3 separate regions of the Homo sapiens genome follow, and regions 1 and 3 are each linked to region 2. The links are contacts of gene promoters, found by promoter capture Hi-C in blood cells and fetal thymus (Javierre and others, 2016). All regions are on one chromosome and are shown on one strand. Each heading gives the region's core, a stretch centred on a gene start or on the middle of the fragment in contact. The rest is flanking DNA. Distances are from core to core; before and after follow the strand shown. Region 1 has its middle 30 kb from the start of CLEC2D. Region 2 holds the start of GABARAPL1 (GABA type A receptor associated protein like 1). Region 3 has its middle 5.5 kb from the start of LINC02366.

The links. Contacts are between HindIII fragments. The CHiCAGO score rates a contact against its expected background, and 5 or more counts as called.
Region 1: a fragment that was not itself captured here is called in contact with the fragment with the promoter of GABARAPL1 in region 2 in 1 of 17 cell types (neutrophils); the score reaches 5.1 in neutrophils.
Region 3: a contact is called between a fragment that was not itself captured here and the fragment with the promoter of GABARAPL1 in region 2, in 2 of 17 cell types (naive CD8 T cells and total CD8 T cells). The highest score is 8.6, in naive CD8 T cells.

What each region holds. Positions count from the first base shown.
Region 1 is chr12:9,637,447-9,642,002 of GRCh38, forward strand. It overlaps the pseudogene LOC374443 and the pseudogene GOT2P3. Among named protein-coding and RNA genes, the nearest start is that of CLEC2D, 30 kb to the right of the region's middle. The HindIII fragment of the contact is 5,494 bases long and covers 400-4,556 here.
Region 2 is chr12:10,210,353-10,214,624 of GRCh38, forward strand. It overlaps GABARAPL1 (GABA type A receptor associated protein like 1), which reads left to right and starts at 2,525. Exons shown (of 4, transcript NM_031412.4): 1 at 2,525-2,867. The coding sequence starts at 2,778. It overlaps GABARAPL1-AS1 (GABARAPL1 antisense RNA 1), which reads right to left. Exons shown (of 3, transcript NR_170310.1): 2 at 3,702-4,017; 3 at 3,297-3,610. RefSeq lists an enhancer at 1,762-2,304 and a silencer at 2,398-2,657. The HindIII fragment of the contact is 15,130 bases long and covers 1-4,272 here.
Region 3 is chr12:10,742,728-10,746,814 of GRCh38, forward strand. No RefSeq gene overlaps it. Among named protein-coding and RNA genes, the nearest start is that of LINC02366, 5.5 kb to the right of the region's middle. The HindIII fragment of the contact is 6,352 bases long and covers 1-4,087 here.

The DNA.
Region 1 (4,556 bases), core at 1,897-4,396, 570 kb before region 2:
GAGGAAAAAGGAAGGTGTTTTTTCAAGGAGTCCCAGGGATTCAAGATGCATTTGAAAGGGGTACAGACTGAAGATGAATGGCTACTCATCTAGAAAGAGGGGAGCCAGTGCCTCTGATTCCTTTCTCTTCCTAGCAAATACACAGGATACATGAGGGAGGAAAAGTGAGGTGTTCCTCTTTCTTTCCTCCATCCTTTTATCCCTGAGTCTTGGTGACTGTGACCAGTGGCCATGGGTGTTAAAGTGGCTTTCGCCCATGTTAACAGTGAGGGCCTAAGAGGTGGGAGTATCCATTCTCACCCATGTATGCCCTATCTCCCCTTCTGTCAGTAGCCTTTGGATTCCCTAGACCTCATTTATGCCATGGATACTAGCGTAGCCTTTATCCATGAAACTGGAAGCTTGGCTTAATTGGCAGGAATCAGCCACACTCACCTGCACTATGTCTTTTGACTTCCGTTATCATCTGCCTCTGGATCCCTCAGATCCAGTTTTCTTTCCTAGGCCTTTGACTCAAAACTTGGAATTAAGTTTGGGACAAAAATGCATCTTGGAGTGGGTTGCATGGACTCCTTATCATAAACCAAATGCTAAAGTGAAGCTGTGGAATTGAGTCCTCTTCCAACAAGGGAGAGAAAAGGATGTCCAGTGACATGCCTAGATAACTGGTGGCTATAGTTATGCTTCCTAGGATTTGGGTGCATGTTGCTTGGCTTTGGTTAGCTCCCTTGGTCTTACTTTCCCCCACCTCCCCCCCAGAAAAACCCTCTGAGTGATGGGCAACCTATTTATTCCCATCACCTGGTAGGATTTGCAGGATAATTGCTCAGAACTAGAATATTGATCCAGATTTCTACATTACCCATCCTGTTTGTTCTTTCTGAGCTGCACACAGAGATCACTGGTTGGTTCACAGGAACAAGCAGGGTTAGTCTGAAAATGTAGGCAAAAACTGAAAAACAACTAATGAGTTTAGAATTTTAAGACAAATGTATGATAAATTTTGAAACATAATTTCTCTCTCTCCAGTCCTCATTTTTGTTAAAAACACAAATCATGATAGGACTCAGTTGTTTGCAAAATTGAATTTAGTCTTATACTTGGCCTGATTATTTGCATAAAGTGCAGCAAAAATAATTATTTCTACATAGGCCTTTTGATTGGCTTTGATGGAATGCTGTTCCACAAGTAATCTCAAATAAGATCTTTTAAAGCCACGCCCAGACATGTATTTGTATCCTCAAATACCTGTGAGTTGGGTAATCCTCTTGTCTTAAGGTTCCAAGATAAACTTGGAGCTCCTGGGCCTGTTAGAAAGTGACATTCTTTACTGATCACAGGTCATGAACCCTGTACAGGAACTGCATAGACAAGGCTCTGAGACCAGTTTCCTCAAGGGACTTTTTTTTTTTTTTTTTTTTTTTTTTTTTTTTGAGAGAGTCTCACTCTTGTTGTCCAGGCTGGAGTGCAATGGCACAATCTTGGCTCACCGCAACCGCTGCCTCCCGGCTTCAAGCAATTCTCTTGCCTCAGTCTCCCGAGTAGCTGGGACTACAGGCATGTGTCACCATACATGGCCAATTTTGTATTTTTAGTGGAGATGGGGTTTCTCCATGTTTGTCAGGCTGGTCTCAAACTCCCAACCTCAGGTGATCCGCCCGCCTTGGCCTCCCAGAGTGCTGGGATTACAGGTGTGAGCCACCACGCCCGGCCTTCCCCAAGGGACTTTTATTGGCTCTGCAAGTTGAGCTTGACTCCTTAAAGAGAAGCATACCCTTCCAGTCAAAGCCTTGGTAAAACAACCAGTTACTCCAATTGCATCCTGTTGCAAAAGAAAATGGATTTTTACTGCACTGATGCAAACAAGTATATTGCTGTAAGTTAAGAATACTCACAGATAATTTCCAAATTCTACAGGAACCAGGCAGAGAGAAGCAAATATACTCCAAATTTTGTTCACAGGAGTATACTCTACTCAATGATTAAAGGCTATAAATAGTTCAAAATATGTTTTCTTGACTCTAAAAAACAAAACAAGGATCAGCAATATCCAAGCAAAATTGAGAAAGATTGCTTCATTTTTTTGAGTTCACCCAGTTAACCCTTATTTTGCTTGATATTTATGAACATTTTAGCTCTTCATGAGTTCTGTACATTTTTCCTTTATTCCAATGTCACAATCCCCAAAGGTATGAGAAACCTGTATCTGAGAGCACTTGTAAAAGTTCTCTAGCTTATTATAAACCATCTTTTGAAAAAGATTAAAACAACAATTGTCTGTGAATAACAATATGTCCAGGGTAGTTACAGTTAGAAACACAATTGACAAAGTTTTGTTATCTCTGTAGTTTACAATAACTTAACAACTTTAATTATGATTGATAGGATATTCTTTAGACATTAGAATTTTAGAAATTCCATACAATTTTGGAACACATATTAGTATTATTCACCAAAATATGACCTAAAGAAGACTGAATACCATTTTGGCAATCCCATGTACCTAAACGTGTCACATAATCCTGTTTACCTTTCTTTTCTGAACACTCCAGGGGCCCTCTGAAGTATCTGAAAAGCCAGGTGTCAGAAAAGACAATTTTGAAACTGAAGTTTGATTTTGGAAAGCCTATTAAATATATTAGAGGCTTAAAATACTTGCTGTTATGAAATAGAATTCCGGATTACCATAAGTTATTTATTTTGCTGAAATAACAACTAAGAAATTTTTTTAAAGAAAAAACCTTGTACAGCCCTTTCATACAAATTTTGCTGACGAGCAGATTAGTGCCTTAAGGATACCTTGCTGTGCTTTTATTTGAATGCTCAATTTACAGAAAAATCATACAATACTTTTTGAAGTTAGTCAATATGTTCACACAGAGAATTTGTTGCAAGATTAATTTTTACAATCCTTCCACCAGTTGTTTGAACTTTTAGCTTTATCTTATCTAATTTAAAACAAATCTTCAACCCTAGGCAGGAATTTACATTTTTATGATTTCTTATAATCTTTATTAAAAACACATTTCACTGTCCTTATGCACCTTGCATGTAAATCTATTTCCAATAGTCTCAATTACATGTCATAATGGTAACTTTTAGCAGTTTTTAACTTTAATGTAAAACCTGGTAAGTTGTTTTGATTATGTGCTAGATGCAGCCAAGGTTTGACTCCTTCCAACATAATTAAGGGAGTGTTTAGTTCCATGTGTCCCCAGGCCTTGCCAATTGTGAAGCCAGCAAATTGAAAAGTTCTCAAAAACCAAAAAAGCAGTTTATGACCTTAAAATATTTTGCCAACCTAGTATCTGACCTGCATAATTTAGTCCACCTATTTACATTTTTATGACATCTGCTTTTTACCAATAATCTTTAAGGCTGTTTTTATTTCTCCAAGATTAAAGTCACGTGAACTGAAAGGTACCACAGCTTTTTATCTTCTCTTTCATAAAATATTTGATCCAAGTGCTTGTCTTCCTTTAGGCAAAATTAATTAGAGCTCTTTTTTTTATGTAAACATCACACACACAACACATATAGAATTACACAGACAGGTAGAAGATAACCCGGTCCCCATAAGATCTTTCATTTGCCAATCTCCTAATTGGATTATTGGCCTCTGGGTGCTTTTAATTTCTGGAGTCCATGAGAAAAAAAAGAGGTCTCTCCTCTCTTGTGCGTGCATTAAAAAAGTGGCAAAGCAAAATGAAGAAAAAATAATTCAGTTGACCAAGAAAAACCTTTTCCCAGCAAAACAAGGTCCAAGAAAAGGGAAACCTTTTAAATATGACTCTAACTTGGATATCCACTTTTAGTTAAGCTGAGCACTCCTTAAGAAATTCCTCTTAACTCCCTTATTATCTGAATTTAGCCACACCAAGTGGCCAATATTTCTGGCTTTCAAACTTTACTAAAGGCTCAGAGAAAGGAAAATCCAAGGCAGTTCATGGAGAGAAATGGAATCAACAAATAGCAAAAGGTCATGCAGATATCAAACCAGGTAAGACTCATTCCCTAAGCCAGGATTGAATCCAAGCTACACAGAGGCTACACAAAACCTTGCCAAGTGGTTACAGGTCTTGCTCCCAAGGATGTTAAACAAGATGGAGGTCCTCAGCAAATTTGCTATGGACCATACAGAAAGACATGCAAAGCAGACCAGATTGGCTACAGCTTCAGATCAGCCTCACAAATCGTCTCTCGCAATTAAAACACTACAGAGAGCCCTCTGCTCAGTCCTGCAGCTGCCCACTGCCCTCCTACTGTCCACCGTGGCCCTGCTGCACTCTGGCTGCGTCCTCTCTGGGATCGCTGCCACCTTCCACCTGGGCCTCGCAGCTGCGGCCTCTGCCAGAGCCAGCTCCTGATGGACCCATGTGGAAATGGGACCTCCAGATATCATCCTGGCAGTCATTGAAGACTTTAAGAGGGACACCAATAGCAAAAAGATGAATCTGGGAGTTGGTGCCTACCGGGATGATAACGGAAAGCCTTGGACGTGCTGCCTAGCGTCCCCAAGGCAGAGGCCCAGATTGCCACAAAAAGTTTGGACAAGG
Region 2 (4,272 bases), core at 1,275-3,774:
GAGACGGGCGAATCACCTGAGGTCAGGAGTTCGAGACCAGCCTGGCAGCATGGCAAAACCTCGTCTCTACTAAAAATACAAAAAAATTAGCTGGGCGCGGTGGCGGGCGCCTTGTAATCCCAGCTACTCAGGAGGACGAGGCCGGAGAAAATTGCTTGAATCCAGGAGGCAGAGGTTGCAGAGAGCCTAGATGGAGCCATTGCACTCCAGCCTGGGCGACAAGAGAGAAACTCCATATCAAATAAATAAATAAAATAAATAAAATCCATGAGTTATTTTATCACATTATATGTTTATAATTTTAAGTCTTACTTTCAAATTGAAAACAGTTTAATTTTCAGTCGCTCATGTTAGGTTTTTTTTTTTTTTTTTAGACAGAGTCTAGCTCTGTCGCCCAGGCTGGAATGCAGTGACACGATCTTGGCTCACTGCAAGCTCCCGCTACCACGCCCGGCTAATTTTTTTGTATTTTTAGTAGAGGCGGGGTTTCACGTGCTAGCCAGGATGGTCTCGATCTCCTGACCTCGTGATCCACCCACCTCCGCCTCCCAAAGTGCTGGGATTACAGTCGTGAGCCACTGCGCCCGGCCTCATTTTAGTTTTGATGCAAATATAGTTAAACCCTCCCGGGTTCTCCCTTCCGGGTTCAAGTGATTCTCCTGCCTCAGGCTCTCGAGTAGCTGGGGACTACAGGCGAGCGCCACCAGGCTCAGCTAATTTTTTCTGTATTATTAGTAGAGACGGGGTTTCACTCGTCTCATGTTGGCCAGGATGGTCTCTATCTCTTGACCTCGTGATCCACCCACCTTGGCCTCCCAAAGTGCTGGGATTACAAGCATGAGCCAACGCGCCCGGCCTATTTTTATTTATTTATTCTTTTTGAGACAGAGTCTTGCTCTCTCTCCCAGGCTGGAGTACAGTGGGCGATCTCAGCTCACTGCAGCCACTGCCTCCCGGATTCAAGCGATTCTCCTGCCTTAGCCTCCACAGTAGCTGAGACTGTAGGAGCGCGCCACCATGCCTTGTTAATTTTTGTTTTTTCTGTAGAGACAGGGTTTTGCCATGTTACCCAGGCTGGTCTTGAACTCCTGAGCTCAAGCGATCCTCGGCCTGGGCCTCCCAAAGTGCTGGGAGAACAGACGTGAGCCACCGCGCCTGGCCCCCTGTGGGTGTTTTTAAAATTAGAGACACTGAGACCCCGACTGAAGAAGATAGGCCACGGGGCTGCTGTTATCTAATATTTATCAGAACTCACCCGACTTGTATGGGCAACGCAGCCCCTTTTCACTGTTCTTTTTCTTTGCAAACTCCACAGTCCTCCCTGTCGCTGCCCTACAGTACTGGTTGGAAGGTCTTTCTTCTTTGACTCTAGGTGGGGAAATCCAGAACGAGGCTTCGCCTCACCTGCCCTAATGCCCAATCTTCTACTAGCATTCCAGGCAGCGCTTTCTAGTCACGTGAGGGATACCTAACCACTGGAACTAAATAAGATGTGGGGGAACAACTGAGGTCATCACCTAAATTGCTTGATACTCTCTTTTCCAGAAGACGAGCCCCCTTTCTGAGTTTATGGCAGAAAGTGAATCCCTCCCTCCCTCCCTTCCTTTCTTTTTCTGTAAGACGGTGTTTCGCTCTTGTTGCCCAGGCTGGAGTGCGACGCCGTGATCTCCGCTCGCCGCAACCTCCGCCTCCCGGGTTAGAGCGGTTCTCCTGCCTCAGCCTCCAGAGTAGCTGGGATTACAGCCATGCGCCACCACGCCCAGCTAATTTTGTATTTTTAGTAGAGACAGGGTTTCTCCATGTTGGTCAGGCTGGTCTCGAACTCCTGACCTCAGGTGATCCGCCCGCCTCGGCCTCCTGGGATTACAGGCGTGAGCCACCGCGCCCGGCTAGAAAGTGAATCATTTCTATATTTGATTGTACGTGAAGCCCTCGGTAGTCCTTACTGACATCATGTCTCCTTTAGACTTTGATTACACTCCGTGTCCTTCATCTGACTCCTCTCTTCAGATTCCTGAGTCACGCTCTGTTTATGTTGCTGTTCAGGAGCGAACTGCGGCACCGCCCAAACACTGTGACGCCAGCGCGGGAGGAGGGCCGCGGGAGGGGCAGCGGAACGCGCAGAGGGCACGGTGCAAGCACGGGACAGCTCTGCATTGGCCAAAGGGATCCCAGGAGGCCTGGCCCTCTTTTCTCCTGAGGCTGGATCCCAACCAGCAGGAAAAGGCTGGATTTTCGCCTTTTGTATTTGTTTTGGGGCCCAACCAAGAAAAACAGTGGAGGGGGAATAAAACATGTTTAAATCTTTTTTTTGTCTTAAAACCATCTTTAATTTCACAGTCACAAAATAAAACATAACTCGAATGTTTTGATGTTTGCAGTGACATCGATTGTGAAAAAGGTTAGCCAGAAAGGAAACGCAGTGAGACAGAGCGCTCGGCCACCCCCTGCCCTGGGCGCCTGGCGCATGGGGGGCGGGGCGGGGCTCGCGGGGTGACGTCACAGCCCGACGCGCCACCCAGCTGTTTTTGTGCTCCCAGCTCTAGCGAAAAGCCGCCGGTATTTCTCCATCTGGCTCTCCTCTACCTCCAGGCAGGCTCACCCGAGATCCCCGCCCCGAACCCCCCCTGCACACTCGGCCCAGCGCTGTTGCCCCCGGAGCGGACGTTTCTGCAGCTATTCTGAGCACACCTTGACGTCGGCTGAGGGAGCGGGACAGGGTCAGCGGCGAAGGAGGCAGGCCCCGCGCGGGGATCTCGGAAGCCCTGCGGTGCATCATGAAGTTCCAGTACAAGGAGGACCATCCCTTTGAGTATCGGAAAAAGGAAGGAGAAAAGATCCGGAAGAAATATCCGGACAGGGTCCCCGTGAGTGTAGAGGAGCGGAGGGGATGGGAGGGGAAGGGCCCGCGGGGGCGGGGGCGGGTAGTCGAGATGGCTTCCCTGGGGCGCCCAGGCGGCTCTGGAGAAGGGAGGTTCCGAGAATTACTTAATCCTGAACGCCCTTCAGTGCCAGAGCCAATGGACGTCCAGACTGTAGAGCTTTTAAAACCCCGTATGCCTGGGCCCCGAACCCCACTTCAGGGCTGACGGCGTTTTGGGGGCCGAGCCGCCGTCTTCAGTGACTCAGCAACCCACACACGGTCTCAGCAGCTGAGACCGTGTGTGGGTTGCGGTGCACAAAATAGGGCCCCTGTGGGCGAGACTGGTTAGATCGGGGCCATGGATTGGCTGCCTTTAAGAACGCAGGGACATTGTGCTGTGCGGTGAGGTTTGCGCAAACCCAGTCGATTTCTGCCTTGGCTGGTTCTCCTTTAATGAAGTTGACTTTGGCTCTCATATCATTGGTCTTGGGACGAAAAGGTTCAGAAGCTATTCAGTAATTTTCTTGCATTACAGGGGGTTAGGGGAGCACAAGACAGTCCTGGCCTGGAAAACAAGGTCACGTTCTCTGCCCAACAGCCCTCTTGCCTCATCGTTCTAGGCTCCGGGGCTTGTGTGGGGACAGCCAGCCTCCTCGTGTTGATTTCTGATCACCTGGTACCTGGTCGCGATAAGGCAGGACTGAGACGTTTTTTCTCCGTTTTGGACACCGGCTTAAGTAGTTAAAACTACCGCAGGCAGTGAGTAGGAACAGAAAAGTATTAGGTATCTTTCAGCATCCGGGCGTTTTCCCCATTACCCCCTCCCCCGCCCACTTGCCTGGTGTTTCTCTAATGCAGGCTGCGCAGCCGAATTGGAGGGCAGAATATGGCTTAAGTGGTAGGGGGACCAGCAGCTGTTGGATTTTGGAAATGGAGGAGCGGAGATTTTAAAATTGTGCTCTTTATCTTCAGGTAGGAACATTAGTATTACGTGTCACATAATGGTAAAATAATTGCTGTTATCTGATGTCTTTTCTTGACTCACAGCCACTCTGGGTTTCTTCTCTAATCCTTACCTAACGTTCGTGGTTTTATAGCTACCAGAAGCCACCAGGGCCTTAGCCCAGCAGTAGAAACCTCTTGTAACCCTTTTCCTTTAAAAAGAAAAAAAAGTCATTAGGGCTCTTCATTCCCCAGGAATTACAAAAAGGTTTTCAGCTTATAGAGGGGTGAGCTAATCCCTTACTCGGGAAAGGATCCTTTACAAATTACTTTCCTGGTTTCTGGACCTTGGATACCTGAAAATTTTGCCCAGTTCTGGTGATACCAATCTTTTGAGCAATGATATTTAAAAAATACAATCAAGTTTTATTGATAGTTTACCCTAGCGGTATTATAAGTACTCAGTC
Region 3 (4,087 bases), core at 451-2,950, 530 kb after region 2:
AGGAGGCCAGTTAAAAATTTTGCTGTATATATTTGTTTGATTTTGGTTTTTGTTACATTTGGTTGTGTTTGGTATAACTCTTTATAAACCTAGAAAAATGTCAGTTAGAAATGGTTTCTCTGTCCTGAGCTTAGAGCAAGAGTTCTTAAAGTGCAATCCCAGATCAGCAGCATTGCATCATCAGGGAATTTGCGAGAGATGCAAATTCTTGGACCATATACCCCAGACCTAGTGAATCGGAAATTTGAAGGGGAAGAAGGTGTCTGGCAGGCAGAAGTCTATGTTTTAACAAGCCCTGTAGGCAATTCTAGAGGGTACTGTAGTTTGGGAAGCACTGATGTAGGGCATAAGCAGCATGTAATTTAGCTTTTGATAATAGCTTACACTTATAATGCATTGGTAACTTTTGCCTTTCTTTTTTGCTAAGTATAATAATAAATGTTGGTTGTAAACAACTTCAGAATGTCATTTTAAAAATTCACTGACTTGCTTCTAATCAAGATATTAAATATCCTTGCTACATCTGCTTTATTATTATTATTAATTTTCCCTAGGCTAAAGTCTCTTTTTACTATTATACTTTAAGTTCTAGGGTACATGGGCACAACATGCAGGTTTGTTACATATGTAAACATGTGCCATGTTGGTTTGCTGCACCCATTAACTCATCATTTACATTAGGTATTTCTCCTAATGCTATCCCTCCCCCATCCCCCCACCCACGACAGGCCCCTCTGTGTGATGTCCTGCAACCTGTGTCCAAGTGTTCTCGTTGTTCAATTCCCATCTATGAGTGAGAACATGCAGTGTTTGCTTTTCTGTCCTTGCGATAGTTTGCTGAGAATGATGGTTCCCAGCTTCATCCATGTCCCTACAAAGGATATGAACTCATCCTTTTTTGTGGCTGCATAGTATTCCATGGTGTATATGTGCCACATTTTCTTAATCCAGTCTATCATTGATGGACATTTGGTTTGGTTCCAAGTCTTTGCTGTTATGAATAGTGCCGCAATAAACATTCGTGTGTATGTGTCTTTATAGAAGCATTATTTATAATCCTTTTGGTATATACCCAGTAATGGGATCGCTGGGTCAAATGGTAATTCTAGTTCTAGATCCTTGAGGAATTGCCACACTGTCTTCCACAATGGTTGAACCAACTTACACTCCCACCAACAGTGTAAAAGCATTCCTATTTCTCCACATCCTCTCCAGCATCTGTTGTTTCCTGACTTTTTAATGATCACCATTCTAAGTGGTGTGAGATGGTATCTCATTGTAGTTTTGATTTGCATTTCTCTGATGGCTAGTGATGATGAGCATTTTTTCATGTGTCTGTTGGCTGCATAGATGTCTTCTTTTGAGAAGTGTCTGTTCTTTGCCCACTTTTTGATGGGGTTGTTTTTTTCTTGTAAATTTGTTTGAGTTCTTTGTAGATTCTGGATATTAGCCCTTTGTCAGATGGGTACGTTGCAAAAATTTTCTCCCATTCTGTAGGTTGCCTGTTCACTCTGATGGTAGTTTCTTTTGCTGTGCAGAAGCTCTTTAGTTTGATTAGATCCCATTTGTCAATTTTGGCTTTTGTTGCCATTGCTTTTGGTATTTTAGTCATGAAGTTCTCGCCCATGCCTATGTCCTGAATGGTATTGCCTAGGTTTTCTTCTAGGGTTTTTATGGTTTAGGTCTAACATTTAAGTCTTTAATCCATCTTGAATCAATTTTTGTATAAGGTGTAAGGAAGTGATCCAGTTTCAGCTTTCTACATATGGCTAGCCAGTTTTCCCAGCACCATTTATTAAATAGGGAATCCTTTCCCCATTTCTTGTTTTTGTCAGGTTTGTCAAAGATCTGACGGTTGTAGATGTGTGTTGTTATTCCTGAGGCCCCTGTACTGTTCCATTGGTCTATCTCTCTGTTTTGGTACCACTATCATGCTGTGTTGGTTACTATAGCCTTGTAGTATAGTTTGAAGTCAGGTAGTGTGATGCCTCCAGCTTTGTTCTTTTTGCTTAGGATTGTCTTGGCAATGCAGGCTTGTTTTTTATTTCCATATGAACTTTAAAGTAGTTTTTTCCAGTCATTGGTAGCTTGATGGAGATGGCATTGAATCTATAAATTACCTTGGGCAGTATGTGCATTTTCACAATATTGATTCTTCCTATCCATGAATCTGGAATGTTCTTCCATTTGTTTGTGTCCTCTTTTATTTTGTTGAGCATTGGTTTGTAGTTCTCCTTGAAGAGGTCCTTCACATCCCTTGTAAGTTGGATTCCTAGGTATTTTATTCTCTTTGTAGCAATTGTGAATGGGAGTTTACTCGTGATTTGGCTCTCTGTTTGTCTGTTACTGGTGTATAGTAATGCTTGTGATTTTTGCACATTGATTTTGTATCCTGAGACTTTGCCGAAGTTGCTTATCAGCTTAAGGAGATTTTGGGCTGAGACAGTGGGGTTTTCTAAGTATATAATCATGCCATCTGTAAACAGGGACAATTTGACTTCCTCTTTTCCTAATTGAATACTCTTTATTTCTTTCTCTTGCCTGATTGCCCTGGCCAGAACTTCCAACACTATTTTAATAGGAGTGGTGAGAGAGGGCATGCCTGTCTTGTGCCAGTTTTCAAAGGGAATGCTTCCAGTTTTTGCACATTCAATATGATATTGGCAGTGGATTTGTCATCAATAGCTCTTATTATTTGGAGATACGTTCCATCAATATCTAACTTATTGAGAGTTTTTATCATGAAGCGCTGTTGAATTTTGTCAAAGACCTTTTCTGCATCTATTGAGATAATCATGTGCTTTTTATCTTTGGTTCTGTTTATGTGATAGATTATGTTTATTGATTTGCATATGTTGAACCAGCTTTGCATCCCAGGGACAAAGCCAACTTGATCTTGGTGGATAACCTTTTTGATGTGCTGCTGGATTCGGTTTGCCGGTATTTTATTGAGGATTTTCTCATCGATGTTCATCAGGGATATTGGCCTAAAATTCTCTTTTTTTGTTGCGTCTCTGTCAGGCTTTGGTATCAGGATGATGCCGGCCTCATAAAATGAGTTAGGGAGGATTCCTTCTTTTTCTATTGATTGGAATAGTTTCAGAAGGAATGGTACCAGCTCCTCTTTGTACCTCTAGTAGAATTTGGCTGTGAATCTGTCTGGTTCTGGACTTTTTTTGGTTGGTAGGCTATTAATTATTGCCTCAATTTCAGAGCCTGTTATTGGTCTATTCAGGGATTCAACTTCTTCCTGGTTTAGTCTTGGGAAGGTGTGTGTGTCCAGGAATTTATCCATTTCTTCTAGATTTTCTAGTTTCTTTGCGTAGAGATGTTTATAGTATTCTCTGATGGTAGTTTGTATTTCTGTGGGATCAGTGGTAATATCCCCTTTATCATTTTTTATTGCATCTATTTGATTCTTCTCTTTCTTCTTCTTTATTAGTCTTGTTACCGGCCTATCAGTTTTGTTAATCTTTTCAAAAAACCAGCTCCTGGATTCATTGATTTTTTTGAAGGGTTTTGTTGTGTCTCTATTTCCTTCAGTTCTGCTCTGATCTTAGTCATTTCTTGCCTTCTGCTAGCTTTTGAATTTCTTTGTTCTTGCTTCTCTAGTTCTTTTAATTGTGATGTTAGGGTGTCGATTTTAGATCTTTCCTGCTTTCTCTTGTGGGCATTTAGTGCTATAAATTTCCCTCTACACACTGCTTTAAATGTGTCCCAGAGATTCTTGTACATTGTGTCTTTGTTCTCATTGGTTTCAAAGAACATCTTTATTTCTGCCTTCATTTCGTTATTTACCCAGTAGTCATTCAGGAGCAGGTTGTTCAGTTTCCATGTAGTTGTGCGGTTTTGAGTGAGTTTCTTAATCCTGAGTTCTAGTGTGACTGCACTGTGGTCTGAGAGACAGTTTCTTGTGATTTCTCTTCTTTTACATGTGCTGAGGACTGCTTTACTTCCAACTATGTGGTCAATTTTGGATTAAGTGTGATGTGGTGCTGTGAAGAATGTATATTCTATTGATGTGTGGTGGAGAGTTCTGTAGATGTCTATTAGGTCTGCTTCGTGCAGAGCTGGGTTCAAGTCCTGG